Linked DNA regions of Homo sapiens: regions 2 and 3 are each linked to region 1. Evidence: promoter capture Hi-C in 16 types of primary human blood cells and fetal thymus (Javierre and others, 2016). All regions are on one chromosome and are shown on one strand. Each heading gives the region's core, a stretch centred on a gene start or on the middle of the fragment in contact. The rest is flanking DNA. Distances are from core to core; before and after follow the strand shown. Region 1 holds the start of FAM229A (family with sequence similarity 229 member A). Region 2 overlaps KPNA6 (karyopherin subunit alpha 6). Region 3 overlaps TXLNA (taxilin alpha).

Region 1 (4,933 bases), core at 1,492-3,991:
CCCTTTTAGTAAGCCTCCTACATGGGGACTGCCTGGGAGAGCATTTTATGTGGAAACTGAGAAGGGTATCCCTTTTGGGTGACGTGGAATTTTAAGGTGCTCTAGGGAAAGCTTGGACTTCTCTACCCTATGAGGATTAGAGGAGGGTGTTGAATCAATTGTCCTTAGATCTCAGGGGACAGGAGACTGAACCTGACCTTTAGGTTACACTCCCCCCGTAACAAAATTGGAAAGTAGAATATACGGGCTCATTAAAGCCAAATTGGAAAGTAGGAAATAGTTGTTTAGCTTAAATACTAGCACCTCCAGGCAGGCTTCCTGTCATGGGCCCCTCCGAGGGCAGATCTTAGGTCATGTGGTCTCAGGATGCTGAGGAGTGTGCTAGACTCTCATTGGGGGACCTTGGGTAAGTCTCAAAGGCTCAGTTCACTCATCTGTAAAATAGGAAGTTAAACCAACGTCTTTCTTTCTCTCTCTTTTTTTTTTTTTTTTGGATAGAGTCTTGCTCTGTTGCCCAGGCTGGAGTGCAGTGGCATGATCTCAGCTCACTGCAACCTCTGCCTCCTGGGTTCAAGGAATTCTCCTGCCTCAGCCTCCCGAGTGGCTGGGATTACAGGTGCGTACCACCACACCCAGCTAATTTTTGTATTTTTAGTAGAGACGGGGTTTCGCCATGTTGGCCAGGCTGGTCTCGAACTCCTGACCTTGTGATCCACCTGCCTCGGTCTCCCAAAGTGCTGGGATTACAGGCGTGAGCCACCGCGCCTGGCAAGCCACCATTTTTCAAATGGCCTCTTCCCCAATCTTTTTATGATCACTTCAGTCCTGGGAGAAACCAAGGCTCAGGATGGACTGGGGCAGCTCCAAACCCTTCCAATAAGGAAGGTCCCAGGCACCTAGGGCCACAAAGAGCAAGTCGCAGAACTTTGTCGCAGAACTTCTCGCTCGAGAGGATTAAAATGGGTCTGGTCGGGTGCCTGTAGTCCCAGCTACTTGGGAGGCTGAGGCAGGAGAATTGTTTGAACCTGGGAGGCAGAGGTTGCAGTGAACAGAGATCATGCCACTGCAGTCCAGCCTGGGAAACAGAGCGAGACTCCATCTCATAGATAGATAGATAGATAGATAGATAGATAGATAGATAGATAGATAGATGATAGATAGATAAGATAGATAGATAGCCTGGTGTGGGTGGCCTATGGCTGTATTCTATGTTACTTGTCGGTCCACCTCTTCCTCCTGTTCCCCGCTTCTGTGGGTTGCCAGGGTCCAGCACAGTGATGTGAATTTCACCGGAGAATCACCAGAGGGTTAGAGAGATGGACCAGGGCAGGGCCCAAGGGAAAGGCTGCCCAGGAGGGGTCAGGACCAGCAAGATACGAGAGGAGTGAAGTGGCGTAGGTTGAAAGGCGGAAGGGCGGGCCCCTAAGGCTGGGTCCAAACGAGGAGGCTGCGGAAGGGAAAGTGTTATTGGACTGGGCAGAGCAGCTGGTGGGCCCGACGGATAGACATACACTGCCAGCCCGGAGTGGAAAGAACAGTTTGTGCTGTGCTTTATTAAAATGTGCATCATTCTTTTATTTTAAAATGTGCATCATTGTCTCGTGCTCGGCGCATGCGACCTCAGCGTGGTGGCCCGCTGGGGGCCTCGTTCCCGCCCAGCTCCCGCGGAGCCGCAGGGAGCAGGCGCACTCACGTGGCGCGGGCCCGGGGGCTCCCGCCCATGGCGAGGTAGACGTCGATGGGCACGTGCAGCAGCGTCAGGCAGTGGCATCCAGGGCAGCGACGAAGCGGCCTGGGGAAATTGACGCGCGACAGGGGCCGCTGAGGCAGGGGCTTGGCCCATCCTGTGGGGCGCACCCAGGGAGTGCACCTGGGGTCCCCGGGGGTCCGGACGTGGATGCGGGGTCCTGACTGCTGGGGGCGCCAAGTGGGACGGAGGGCGGGGCCGCGGGACGGGCGGAGGCGGGGGTGGGGCGCGGGCCTTACCTGACCGGGTTGTGCTCCGTCGCTACCGCCTCCGGGCTGTCCTGGGACTCGGGGGCGGCGGCAAGGCCACGGGAGTCTCCGGCCTCAATGGGGAATCTCCGACCCTGCGGGGGCTCCTGGGCGCTCATGTCCAAGCCCCGGGGCGCTCTGCGCGGGGAGTGGCGGTCAGGCCTCTCCCGGGTCGCCGGGCGCCGCCGCCTCGCGCCCGCCCCCTGGGCCGTCGCTCACCTCCCGGCGGTTGAGACCGGTCCCAGGCTAGAAGCAGCTGCCGGAGCCCTGGCCGCGGGAGAACGCTCCGGTCCAGGCGGAGCCGGGCAGGTCTCTGTGGCGTGCCCGGGCCCGGGCGTCGAGGAGGGCAGCATTGTGACCCGGGCCGCGGCGCGCTGACCTCACAGAGCACGTTCCTCCCACTGGAGAACCCCCAACGGTGCCCCCTGCCGCCCCTGGCACTCAGCGCGGGCCAGAATCGGGGACTGGAGGCCTCTGGCCATGGCGCCTGGAGACGGGGTCGCGCAGACCCCGGACACCCGAGGGGGGCGCAGCAGGCCAGGGCAACCCGCCGCGAGGCGGCGTCCACGCCGAGGAGCCGCGCATTCCCGGTCCACACAGACGCGGCGGAGCGCCCTCCCAGGCGGGACTACAACTCAATGCCTGGCACGGGGGCGGGCTCGGCGGTGACTTAATCCGGGCTGAGTTTGGTGGTGGTAGTGAGGGCAGGTAGGGGCACTGCCCATTTTGGCCAAGGGTCACACAGCATCTACATCACAATTGCACCGGAGTTTAAAAATGTCTGGCCCTGTCCCTCCCCACCACCCGCCGCTGTGTCCAGACAGAGAATGTTCTAACGCTGGGGGCGGCTGCGGATGAAGTCCTTGGGGAGAAAAGGAGCAGGCCAAGGGCGATGGTGGAGTAGAGCTGCCTCTCAGAGGCAGCATGAGCTGAGAGGGTGATAGGAAGGCGGCGCTAGACAGCATGGAGGACTTTCTGCTCTCCAATGGGTACCAGCTGGGCAAGACCATTGGGGAAGGGACCTACTCAAAAGTCAAAGAAGCATTTTCCAAAAAACACCAAAGAAAAGTGGCAATTAAAGTTATAGACAAGATGGGAGGGCCAGAAGGTGAGCCGGGGCCCCTTTGGAGGGAAGGAGGGAGGACTGGCTGAGGTGGGTGGGTGCTTCCTCCTGTTTGTTAGAACGATCATTCGATCATTCCCTGCTCCCGCTGGCCTGGAACCAAGCAAGCCCGATGGCAGCTCTGGAGTGGGTCAGTGGGGAACAGAGGGGTTCTGGGAGTCCAGGAACATTACACCCCCCCAGAATGCAAGATGAAAGTGGCATGAGGTGAAGGATCCTCAGAGGCAAAACCTGAGCCAGGCTTTCCTTTCCGGCAGGGGAACAGAGACTGGCAGAGGCCACAACCAGGGCTGGTAGAGAACAGGGGCTGGTGCCAAGGCCCGTGGAGATGGGAAAAAGGAAGACAGGGCTCATGGAAAGAATTGTGGGGTCAGGGGACAGTGGCGGGAGGAGCTGGCTCACCACCCTGTGGACAAATCAGGCCTTATAATTTGTGATTCTGTGGCTTTGTCTAAAAGTCCCTAAAGCACCTTGATATCCAGTCTCACAGACTGCTCACAACAGTCCACAAGGCTGGTGGGGAGTGCTTCTTTTGAATGATATACTAACGACAAAAATAATAGAAGTGAACATTCTTTGCAATGTCCAAGCAGCTAGACACACTTAAGACCATTAAGAAAGCCAAGAAATAAGACCCAGACAAGGTGGGCAGAAGTTGGAAGGCAGGAGACAGGTGTGAGGAGGTGGGCCTTTCTGATCTGCCAGCCCATCTCTCCTCCCCTTACTTCCTCAGAGTTTATCCAGAGATTCCTCCCTCGGGAGCTCCAAATCGTCCGTACCCTGGACCACAAGAACATCATCCAGGTGTATGAGATGCTGGAGTCTGCCGACGGGAAAATCTGCCTGGTGATGGAGCTCGCTGAGGGAGGGGATGTCTTTGACTGCGTGCTGAATGGGGGGCCACTGCCTGAAAGCCGGGCCAAGGCCCTCTTCCGTCAGATGGTTGAGGCCATCCGCTACTGCCATGGCTGTGGTGTGGCCCACCGGGACCTCAAATGTGAGAACGCCTTGTTGCAGGGCTTCAACCTGAAGCTGACTGACTTTGGCTTTGCCAAGGTGTTGCCCAAGTCACACCGGGAGCTGAGCCAGACCTTCTGCGGCAGTACAGCCTATGCTGCCCCCGAGGTGCTGCAGGGCATTCCCCACGATAGCAAAAAAGGTGATGTCTGGAGCATGGGTGTGGTCCTGTATGTCATGCTCTGTGCCAGCCTACCTTTTGACGACACAGACATCCCCAAGATGCTGTGGCAGCAGCAGAAGGGGGTGTCCTTCCCCACTCATCTGAGCATCTCGGCCGATTGCCAGGACCTGCTCAAGAGGCTCCTGGAACCCGATATGATCCTCCGGCCTTCAATTGAAGAAGTTAGTTGGCATCCATGGCTAGCAAGCACTTGATAAAAGCAATGGCAAGTGCTCTCCAATAAAGTAGGGGGAGAAAGCAAACCCAAAAACCCGCTTCTAAAATGGTGATATATATTTTACGCTTTAAGTTTACTTATCCTAAAACTTACCTACATCTACCCCAGCCTTACTACTACTCTTTCCTTTTAGAGATCTTCATGGAATCAAAGGGCCTCATTCAGACTTCCTTTTTTTTTTTTAAGAGTCTTGCTCTGTCGCCCAGGCTGGAATGCAGTGGCACGATTCCAGTTCACTGCAACTCTGCTTCCCAGGTTCAAGCGATTCTCCTGCCTCAGCCTCCCCAGTAGCTGGGATTACAGGCACCTCCCACCACGCCTGGCTATTTCTGTATTTTTAGTAGAGATGGGGTTTCACCATGTTGGCCAGGCTGGTCTGGAACTCCTGACCTTAGTG
Region 2 (4,933 bases), core at 1,941-4,440, 200 kb before region 1:
AGAGTACTGGTCTTTCTTGAAAGGGAAATGTGCAGACCATGGTTGTTCATCCCTTAGGTGGTTCTCTCTCCCACACCTTTCTTTGCTTACATTTAGTAAGCCAAAGATGAACATTCTTAAATTAGGATTGGCTTTACTCTTTAACATTCCAGCTGTATTATACAGTTCAAAGACGAGTAGATATTGTTAAAACCACCTTACCAGAAGGGAGTTTGGGAATGTTTGTAAGGGTGGTCAGAAGTGTCTAAGAAGGATTGCAAGCTGACCCCCATGAAGGGATCAGCAAAAGCTTCTCCTGTGTTTTTATTTTCCCTTCTCCCTTATCCAGAGCCTAGTCCTCCAATAGATGAAGTTATCAACACTCCAAGAGTGGTGGATCGGTTCGTGGAGTTTCTGAAGAGGAATGAGAATTGTACATTACAGGTGAGGCCTGAAGGGAAGGGGTTTGTTTTGTCTTTTAATTTTTGGGGGATACATAGTAGGTATATATATTTATGGGATACATGAGATGTTTTGACACAGGCATGCAATTTGAAATAAGCAAATCATGGAGAATGGGGTATCCATTTCCTCAAGCATTTATCCTTTAAGTTACAAACAATCCAATTATACACTTTAAGTTATTTTAAATTGTGTAGTTATTATTGACTATAGTCACCCTATTGTGTTACCAAATAGTAGGTCTTATTAATTCTTTCTGGGTTTTTTTGTACCCATTACTTATCCCCATCCCACCCCCAGTCCCCCACTACTGGGAAGGGGTTATTAGATGAAAGCCCTACTTCCAAGAAATTGCAGTGGGATACTTCTATTGACATATCTCTCAGGAAGTTCAAAAGTAATGTTAGGAAACATTCAGGAGAAACCATCAGTTCCCTCACAGCCAGAATCTCTTCCTTAAAACAATTTCAAAGGAAAGGCACCAGACTATGATAGACTGATCATTCAGTTATAAATCAGAGGCTATAGTCCACTACCTGTGTGACCTGAGGCAAATTGTTTAGCCTCTCTGGGTCTCTTGTTTCAGAGATGGGTGATGGGTCAATCCATTGGAACTTGCCAGAACTCAGCTGAAAGGGACTTTGAGAGACCCATTTCATTCTAATCCTCATTTCAGAAATGAAGAAAGTGAAGCTCAGGAAATAAAAGAGTGACCTGGCAAAGGATGCATGGGTGTTGTGGTAGTGCAGGACTAAACCTGGGACCCTGGAAGCCCAATGTCTTATTCTCATCTATATCACATCACTGCATCTTCCCACTCTCTAAAGACGGGAGGGGAAAGGCTTGTATTTTATGTGTGTGTGTTTTAAATTCGTGGGCAAGAGGCTTGCTTGTGTTTTGTGAGGTTTTGTTTTGGTTTTTTAAATTCATGGGCAGGAGGCTTACTGTTCTGAGCCAGCTGATAGGCATGGCTGCTCAGTCTGAAATGACCTTTCAATCATTGCTTAATCTCACTTTCAGTTTGAAGCTGCCTGGGCTCTAACGAATATTGCCTCTGGAACCTCTCAGCAGACCAAAATTGTCATTGAAGCAGGGGCTGTCCCCATTTTTATAGAGCTGCTTAATTCAGACTTTGAGGATGTTCAGGAACAGGTAATGCTTAGATTTGGTGTGATTCTTTATAGTACCTGTGGTATAATAAAAAATATATTTGGTCTTTGTCCTGGTTCTTGGCACAGTGTTAAAACTCTTGGAATTTCCTGAGTGATAGGGGTGTCAAGTACAGATGGCCCCTGGGACTTGCAACTGGTATCTCAAGTTGGGGCAGTCTTGTGGGACTAACCTGCGGACTCTGCATTAACTCTAGGTGTTAGAGTCAGAATTGAATTAAATCGTTGGACACATGGTTGGTATCAGAGAATGGGTGGTTGATGTGGAAAAAACTCTATACATTTGTTGTTGGAAGTGCCATTGGAAAAAAGACACCACAGTACCCATATCTGAGTACCCACAAATCATGGAGATAAAGATACAACTTCCATTTCTCCCATTGAATTCTTACTAGTTGGATAGAATTGGAGAGTGGTAGTGGGCTCTTTTATAGACTTGGTCCAAGGCAGCTACAAGAGTGCAACTTTCGCCAGGCGCGGTGGCTCACGCCTATAATCCCAGCACTTTGGGAGGCCGAGGTGGGCAGATCACGAGGTCAGGAGTTCAAGACCAGCCTGACCAACATGGTGAAACTCCATCTCTACTAAAAATACTAAAAAGTTAGCTGGGCATGGTGGAGCTTACCTGTAATCCCAGCTATTCAGGAGGCTTGAGACAGGAGAATCACTTGAACCCGGGAGGTGGAGGTTACAGTGAGCAGAGATTGTGCCACTGCACTCCAGCCTGGGTGACAGAGCGAGACTCCGTCTCAAAAAAAAAAAAAAAAAAAAATGCAACTTTCTGATTACTTTCTCCTTTTCTGGGCGATATTGTTTTGGCTTCTGTGGCTATAGTACAGATGGCAGCCTGTCTTTCCCTGCTGAACCAGGAACTCCCAGGGATAGGTCATTGTAGAACAAGTGCTCAGTAAGAATTTCAATAGGGAGGTTACCTGAGCTTGTGTAGTATATTTGGGGCCTTGACATCATTCTCATCCTGGTGGGTACTCACTTTGCAGTTGTGGCTATAAAGTACTCACAGGAGTACCAAGCTTTGTGGGTGACAGTTTCATTATCCCCTTTTCAGGCAGTCTGGGCACTGGGAAACATAGCTGGAGATAGCTCTGTTTGCCGAGATTACGTCTTGAACTGTTCCATCCTTAATCCTTTGTTAACGTGAGTAATTATAATCATCTGTACCTGGGCGTCTACTGGGTGGCCACGTGGCAGGTCATTTGGGGGCAGCATACTTGATTCCTTAAGATGATAGGTAAGTGCAAAAACTATAAAAATGCATTCTGATTGCCAAAGTAAAAGATAGGTATCTTTGGAGATTGAGAAGGTTGTGGCCGGGCATGGTGGCTTATGCCTGTAATCCCAGCACTTTGGTAGGCCAGAGCAGGTGGATCCCTTGAGCCTAGAGTTCAAAACCAGCCTGGGCAACATGGTGAAACCCCAACTCTACAAAAAATACAAAAGTTAGCCAGGTGTGGTGGCAGGCACCTGTAGACTCAGCTACTTGGGAGGCTGAGGCAGGGAGGATCACCTGAGCCCAGGGAGATCAAGGCTACAGTGAGCTGTGATTGATCACACCACTGCACTTCAGCCTGGGCAAAAGAGTGAAAAAAAAAAAAGATTGTGCCACCCATCTGCCAAAAAGGATCTTGTTCCTCACTTCATGGCACTGCAGAACCTCATGTTAGTCATATCCTCATATCCTCCTCATTGTTGAGCCAGGGGAGAGAGGCAGGACTAGCCCACCTGGAAAAATCCAACCTTCTCTACAAAATGCATTGATTTGTTATGGGGTTTTGCATACATACATCGGACAGCTCTGTCGTAAATTATAGATCAAAGACCCCGTGAAGCGTCATTGTATCCTTCTCCCATCCTTCCCTCCGTACCCTTAGAGTAAACTATGCCTAAACCAAAACAGATGAATGAACTGTTCTTCAGAGACCACAGTCTCATAGCCTACCACTGTCACTTTCTTGGACCCTTCACAGAAAATTATTCCATACTGTGTGGCTAAAGCTCTCACAGTAGACCTATAGCTTTTATTTCTTAGACTTTTAGCTTTTATTTCCAGAGAACACCATTCCTTGTCCTGGACTTGTGGCCAGGGTTATGGGCATGATATATCCCACTTTAGAAGCTTTACAGGCTTACTCCAGATCTAGCCCTCTGTTTCGTCCCTATTATCTATGGTATTAACTAGCCACAGCTGGTCCTGAAATGAATACTCTGTATAGAGCCTGGCCTCCTAACCTATACCAGCTCTATTAACTTAGGTCTGTGAGTAGGAAGAAACAGGCTGCTAGAGTCTGAGAGGTCTCATTGGATTTGTCTCTGGGTTCATTGGCAACAGTCCTATGCCAAGGCCTCAGTGCTCAGGATCTGGCTTTGCTGTTTCCTTCAGACTCCTTACCAAGTCCACACGACTGACGATGACACGGAATGCAGTCTGGGCCCTGTCAAATCTCTGCCGAGGGAAAAACCCACCCCCAGAGTTTGCAAAGGTGAGAGAGCTACTTACTAGACCCTGAGTGACATCAGGTTCCTTCATATGGAGTTTTTAAGTCTTTGGGATACTCCTTGGAGTCTCAAATCATGGGAAACTGAAAGAAGCAATTGTTAGTGAAGTAGATGATCTTGTGTACCTGGATAGTAAAGTGAAAAGGTAGACCCAAATGTTTAATGTAGTAGCGATCCCTAGGGTCTGGAATTACTTGTGTGTGTGTATTGTGGGGGCGGTGGTTGCAATGTTAGGGTTCGTGATAGAGCTGATATAGTCTTGTTCCCCTGTGAGTCTTTCTCACTCTGCTTCCCACAGGTCTCTCCTTGTTTGCCTGTACTGTCTCGCCTACTCTTCAGCAGCGACTCGGACTTGCTGGCAGATGCTTGCTGGGCCCTTTCTTATCTGTCTGATGGCCCCAATGAGAAGATCCAGGCAGTCATAGACTCCGGAGTCTGCCGGAGATTGGTAGAGCTGCTGATGTGAGTGGTCTTAGAAGGGGTACAGGTTCTGGCTGGGCACGGTGGCTTATGCTTATAATCCCAGCACTTTGGGATGCCAAGGTGGGCGGATCACAAGGTCAGGAGTTCGAGACCAGCCTGACCAACATGGTGAAACCCCGTCTCTACTAAAAATACAAAAATTAGCTGGGCGCAGTGGCAGGCGCCTGTAATCCCAGCTACTTGGGAGGCTGAGGCAGGAGAATCATTTGAACCTGGGAGGCAGAGGTTGCAGTGAGCCGAGATCGTGCCATTGCACTCCAGCCTGGGTGACAGAGCAAGACTCCGTCTCAAAGGAAAAAAAAGAATCCCAGCACTTTGGGAGGCTG
Region 3 (4,933 bases), core at 1,009-3,508, 180 kb before region 1:
ATAGTGAGGGCAGGATTGAGTTGGTCCTTATGGCAAGGAAGGCAGCTAATCAACAAGCAAAATATAAAGTATGATGGGGAGGGCTGTCTTCAGCACTCATGAGTGTGAGCCCAGGCCTGGAGGGGACACCTGGAGAAGAGGGTGCATGTCTTTGCTCCTGTGCTTTTCAGGGAAGGAGATCACGTTGCTGATGCAGACATTGAATACTCTGAGTACCCCAGAGGAGAAGCTGGCTGCTCTGTGCAAGAAGTATGCTGAACTGGTCAGTTCCCCCCTCCGCGGGCACCTTCCCTGCGTTGGGAAAATCAGCATGCCACCTGGTGTAAGGTTGGGGGTGCAGAGTCAAGTAGGTGGCTTAATTCCTGTTCAGCTTTTCTCTGAACTATCTGTTAAATGGGGAATCACTTCCAGCCAGCCTCTTCAGGGCTGTGCAGCAAGAGGAGAAACTGCATATTCCTTGAAAGAAATTTCTCAAAGAATGATTCCAAGGTGGTAGAGCCCTTGTTCCTGGCCTGAGTCCAAGACACCTTGTGATCTTGATGCTTCTTCCTCAAATACAGATGCATAGAGCCATTATCACAGTTAATAAAACTAACACTAGTCACTTGATACTTTTTCCTTTTACTCCAGAGCAGTCTTCTTGTCACTGCCTCCTCATATTCCCCATGACATTGACTTTTAACAGAAACTAGACTAGCTGTCTTGTAGGATGCCCCCTTCTAGCTTTGTCATCTCTGTGGTATCATTTTACTTCTTTACCTCCTGGTACATGTAAGTGAAGTAGAAGTTAGCTCTAAAGCTTGATCCAATTCAGCTTCAACTTTTTGACAAGAATTCTTCATAAGTACTTCATGTTCCATCACAATAAATGCAAAGCATGCTCTTCCCACTTTGTTGTAACATTGTTCAGTGGGTTGGGGGTGGGGCAGCCAGATTCTTCCATCATCAGGTCCCTTGTCAGAATTTGAACTAACAGATTTATCCATTGATGGTCACAGCCTGTGTATGTATGTATGTATGTATGTATGTATGTATTTATTTATTTATTTATTTTTTGAGACGGGGTCTTGCTCTGTCGCCCAGGCTGGGGTGCAGTGGCACGATCTCGGCTCGCTGCAAGCTCCGCCTTCTGGGTTCATGCCATTCTCCTGCCTCAGCCTCCCGAGTAGCTGGGTCTACAGGCGCCCGCCACCATGCTAGGCTATTTTTTTTTTTTTTTTTTTTTTTAGTAGAGACGGGGTTTCACCGTGTTAGCCAGGATGGTCTCGATCTCTTGACCTCGTGATCCGCCCGCCTCGGCCTCCCAAAGTGCTGGGATTACAGGCTTGAGCCACCACGCCTGGCCTATTTATTTATTTATTCAGAGTCAGAGTCTCGCTCTGTCACCAGGCTGGAGTGCAGTGGCGCGATCTCGGCTCATTGCAACCTCCACCTCCCAGGTTCAAGCGAGTCTCCTGCCTCAGCCTCCCGAGTAGCTGGGATTACAGGTGCATGTCACCATGCCTGGCTAAATTTTGTATGTTTTAGTAGAGACAGAGTTTCAGTATGTTGGCCAGGATGGTCTTGATCTCTTGGCCTCGTGATCCGCCCGTCTCAGCCTCCCAAAGTGCTGGGATTACAGGTGTGAGCCACTGTGCCTGGCCTCTAAGTATTTATTTTAAAATTAATTCATTCCACACACATTTATTAATATTTTCCTGTAAGGAACTTTACTCATCTTTAAAATGGGGAATGTCATACCTGCCTAATGACATTCTTGTAAGGATTAAATAAAAGGTATAAGGAAGATAAGCACCCTTTTGGAGTGATCCAGCCAGGGGAAAATTGCTGATGCAAGAGAGGAAATGAGTTGCTAGAGTGGTGTTGTGAGTAGAGGAGGGGAGCTGAGGCCTGCCCAAGAAGGGGGCTTGGCTGTGGTAACCACATGGCTAGGTCTGTGTGACTGGAGGAGAGGACGGGGCAGGTGGACTGGTAGATGTGCAGCTTGTGCCCCTGATTCTCTAGTTTCTTCTGTGTTTTGAGATTTGATGAGAACGATGAAATAGTTGTCTGGAAGGAGAGGAGTGTGAATAGCATATGCATTGTATTGGGATTGCTGGTCTTCCTGAAATTGGTGGCCATGAATTTAAAGTGAGACTCTTCAAGTAGGGTTGTTATAGTACTGGTGTAAAGCAGGAAGGTGCTTTACTAGGGTTGCAGTACTACTGGGGAAGGGCCAAGAGAGTTGAGGGTGTAAGAAATCCAAGCCAGGTAATGTAGTTATTTTAAAGGAGAGTGGAAGGATGGTTGAGTCAATGGATTGGAGGTCCTATAGGGTAAGAGACTTTCTGAGGATCACAGATACTGATTGGAATGAGCTAAAAAGATAGGTGATGGTAGTCCTGGACTGGGATGCTGGAAATTGAGATAGTGGGTGTGCTCTCTGGTAGTGACAAAGTCTAGATCTGCGCTGTCCAAGATAAATTCGTCTCTAGCTAATTGACATGTGGCCAGTTTGAATTTGAACATGCTATAAATGTAAGATACACATCAGCTTTTGAAGACTTAAGCAAAAACAAAGAATATAAAACATCTTTTTGTGAGAGAGTGTCTCAGTCACCCAGGCTGGAGTGCAGTGGCGTGATGTCCTGCTTCCAGGTTCAAACGATTCTCCTGCCTCACAGCCTCCTGAGTAACTGAGATTACAGGCGCATGCCACCAAACTGGCTACTTTTTTGTATTTTTTTTTTAGTAGAAACGGTTTCACCATGTTGGCCAGGCTGGTCTTGAACTCCTGACCTCAAGTGATCTGCCTGCCTCAGCCTCCCAAAGTGCTGGGATTACAGGCATGAGCCACCACTCCCGGCCTCACTTTTTTACATTGATTCCGTGTTGAAATTGTAATGTTTTGGATATTAGGTTAAATACATATATTACTAAAATTAATTTCACCTGTTTTTTACTTTTTTAGTGCGGCCAGTAGAATATTTTTAATTACTTATGTGGTTTGCATTATATTTCTGTTGTACAGGCCTGGATAGGGTCATGGGAGGGGAACTGAGCTGGGGAAAGGAGTGGGTTTGTGGAAGAGGTGATGGACTGTGAGGCCAGGGAGTTAGAAGGATTATCTGTTGATACTGAAGTGGCCACAAATGAGAAAAGTAATTGTGTTGGGGAGAGCGCTGATGAACGCAGCGCTAACGTTTTGAAGGAATGCGAGGGAGCGATGGGGGTCTGTCTGTTAATAGGCACAAGGTACGGTAGCAGGTGGTCTCATCCTCGGGCATGAGTGTCCAGCAAGTTGGGGAAATGCAACAGCTTGAAGTGGCTCTAGTGGCCCAGAGTCAGAGCTGGAATAGGAATTGGCATCTGCTGGCTGTGTGGCCCCTGCTTGCCCTAGTGAGTTACCATTTCTCTGTCCCTACGGTGGAGCCTTTGGGGTTATTGTGAGTTCATGGGAGGAGCGTGTAAGCACCGGCACAGCATCAGCCCATGAGAGTGCTCCTGGCCTGAGAGGGTAAGGGTCAGGGCAGCTCAGGAGACCCTAGACCTGCATAGTGATCCCCCCACCAGGAAGGCCCCACAAGATGCTCACCTGCCCTCCCTATCCCTGTCCCCAGCTGGAGGAGCACCGGAATTCACAGAAGCAGATGAAGCTCCTACAGAAAAAGCAGAGCCAGCTGGTGCAAGAGAAGGACCACCTGCGCGGTGAGCACAGCAAGGCCGTCCTGGCCCGCAGCAAGCTTGAGAGCCTATGCCGTGAGCTGCAGCGGCACAACCGCTCCCTCAAGGTAGGCCTGGGCCCCCTGGAACAGGTGACTCTGGTTTCCTTGACTTCCACTTAATGTTTCTTTCATGGGCTTTCCTCTTAAAAAGTAGTGCAGGCTAGGGCCAGGCGCAGTGGCACACATAAGTGATTAAAAATCTTCTGGCCACTAAAAAACAGAAATTAATTTTAGTAATATACTTAACCCAATATCCAAAACATTACAATTTCAACATGAAATCAGTGTAAAAAAGCAAGGCTGGGTGTGGTGGCTCACACCTGTAATCCCAACACTTTGGGAGGCTGAGGTGGATGGATCACTTGAGGCCAGGAGTTTGAGACCAACCTGGTCAACGCAGTGAAACCCCATTCTACTAAAAATACAAAAATTAGCCGAGTGTGCTGGCAAATGCCTATAATCCCAGCTACTCAGGTGGCTCAGGCATGAGAATTGCTTGCACCTGGGAGGCTGAGGTTGCAGTGAGCCGAGATTGCATCACTGCATTACAGCCTGGGCAACAGAGTGAGACTCAGTGTCCAAAAAAAAAAAAAAGTAGTGCAGGCTTGTGGCATAGAAATACACTTTCTCAATAATGCCTTACGTTAAGAGAGTACTGCTTGTAATCATTTGACATGTATTAGATAAGGTGAAGGATAAAGTACTAAGAGAATCCATAATGCACTGGCGTTAGTATTTCTCAATGAAATGACAGTCCCCTGGTAAGCGGAGGCCTGGCTCTGACAAGCAGCTCTTGTCCCAGACGTTGGTCAGTCAGGAACCTGGGTCCTTCCCATGTTCTGCTGCTTCTATGGTGAGGTCAGTCTGTGGTTACACCAAGTTTAAATACAGCCTTTTAACTTTCTTTTTTATATGTAAAATCTTACATGTAGTTTTTAGAATGAAATTATTATACATGTACCATTTCATATCCTGTGCCTTTTTTTCACTTTACATAACATTTTTCCCTATCAGTATGTGTAGGGCTATCTTCTCATTATATGGATATATTATATCAGTGCCCTAGTTAAAGCATTTTGGGGGTTGTTTACAATTTTTCATTATTACATATAGAACTATAGTGAAAATTCTTGTTATATTTATCACTGGTCAGTTATATAGAACTTATCTGTAGGATAAGTCATGGAATTGAAATGGCTAGGTCACAGTATATGCAGATTTTTCATTTT

Evidence for each region. The method cuts DNA at HindIII sites, captures the fragments that hold promoters and counts their contacts. A CHiCAGO score of 5 or more calls a contact.
Region 2: a fragment that was not itself captured here is called in contact with the fragment with the promoter of FAM229A in region 1 in 1 of 17 cell types (naive CD8 T cells); the score reaches 5.4 in naive CD8 T cells.
Region 3: a contact is called between a fragment that was not itself captured here and the fragment with the promoter of FAM229A in region 1, in 2 of 17 cell types (non-activated CD4 T cells and naive CD8 T cells). The highest score is 8.2, in non-activated CD4 T cells.

What each region holds. Positions count from the first base shown.
Region 1 is chr1:32,359,744-32,364,676 of GRCh38, forward strand. It overlaps FAM229A (family with sequence similarity 229 member A), which reads right to left and starts at 2,742. Exons shown (of 3, transcript NM_001167676.2): 1 at 2,215-2,742; 2 at 1,987-2,133; 3 at 1,527-1,792. The coding sequence starts at 2,348. The coding sequence ends at 1,690. It overlaps TSSK3 (testis specific serine kinase 3), which reads left to right and starts at 2,796. Exons shown (of 2, transcript NM_052841.4): 1 at 2,796-3,103; 2 at 3,852-4,569. The coding sequence starts at 2,959. The coding sequence ends at 4,513. LOC124903933 (a long non-coding RNA gene) reads left to right here. Exons shown (of 3, transcript XR_007065642.1): 3 at 1-1,585. It overlaps BSDC1 (BSD domain containing 1), which reads right to left. Exons shown (of 11, transcript NM_018045.8): 11 at 4,890-4,933. RefSeq lists silencers at 2,024-2,323, 2,474-2,673. The HindIII fragment of the contact is 11,112 bases long and covers 110-4,933 here.
Region 2 is chr1:32,157,939-32,162,871 of GRCh38, forward strand. It overlaps KPNA6 (karyopherin subunit alpha 6), which reads left to right. Exons shown (of 14, transcript NM_012316.5): 5 at 329-423; 6 at 1,462-1,593; 7 at 2,677-2,765; 8 at 4,009-4,108; 9 at 4,423-4,586. Among named protein-coding and RNA genes, the nearest start is that of TXLNA, 19 kb to the right of the region's middle. The HindIII fragment of the contact is 1,103 bases long and covers 2,640-3,742 here.
Region 3 is chr1:32,184,355-32,189,287 of GRCh38, forward strand. TXLNA (taxilin alpha) reads left to right here. Exons shown (of 11, transcript NM_175852.4): 4 at 171-262; 5 at 3,600-3,770. Among named protein-coding and RNA genes, the nearest start is that of TXLNA, 7.1 kb to the left of the region's middle. The HindIII fragment of the contact is 2,923 bases long and covers 798-3,720 here.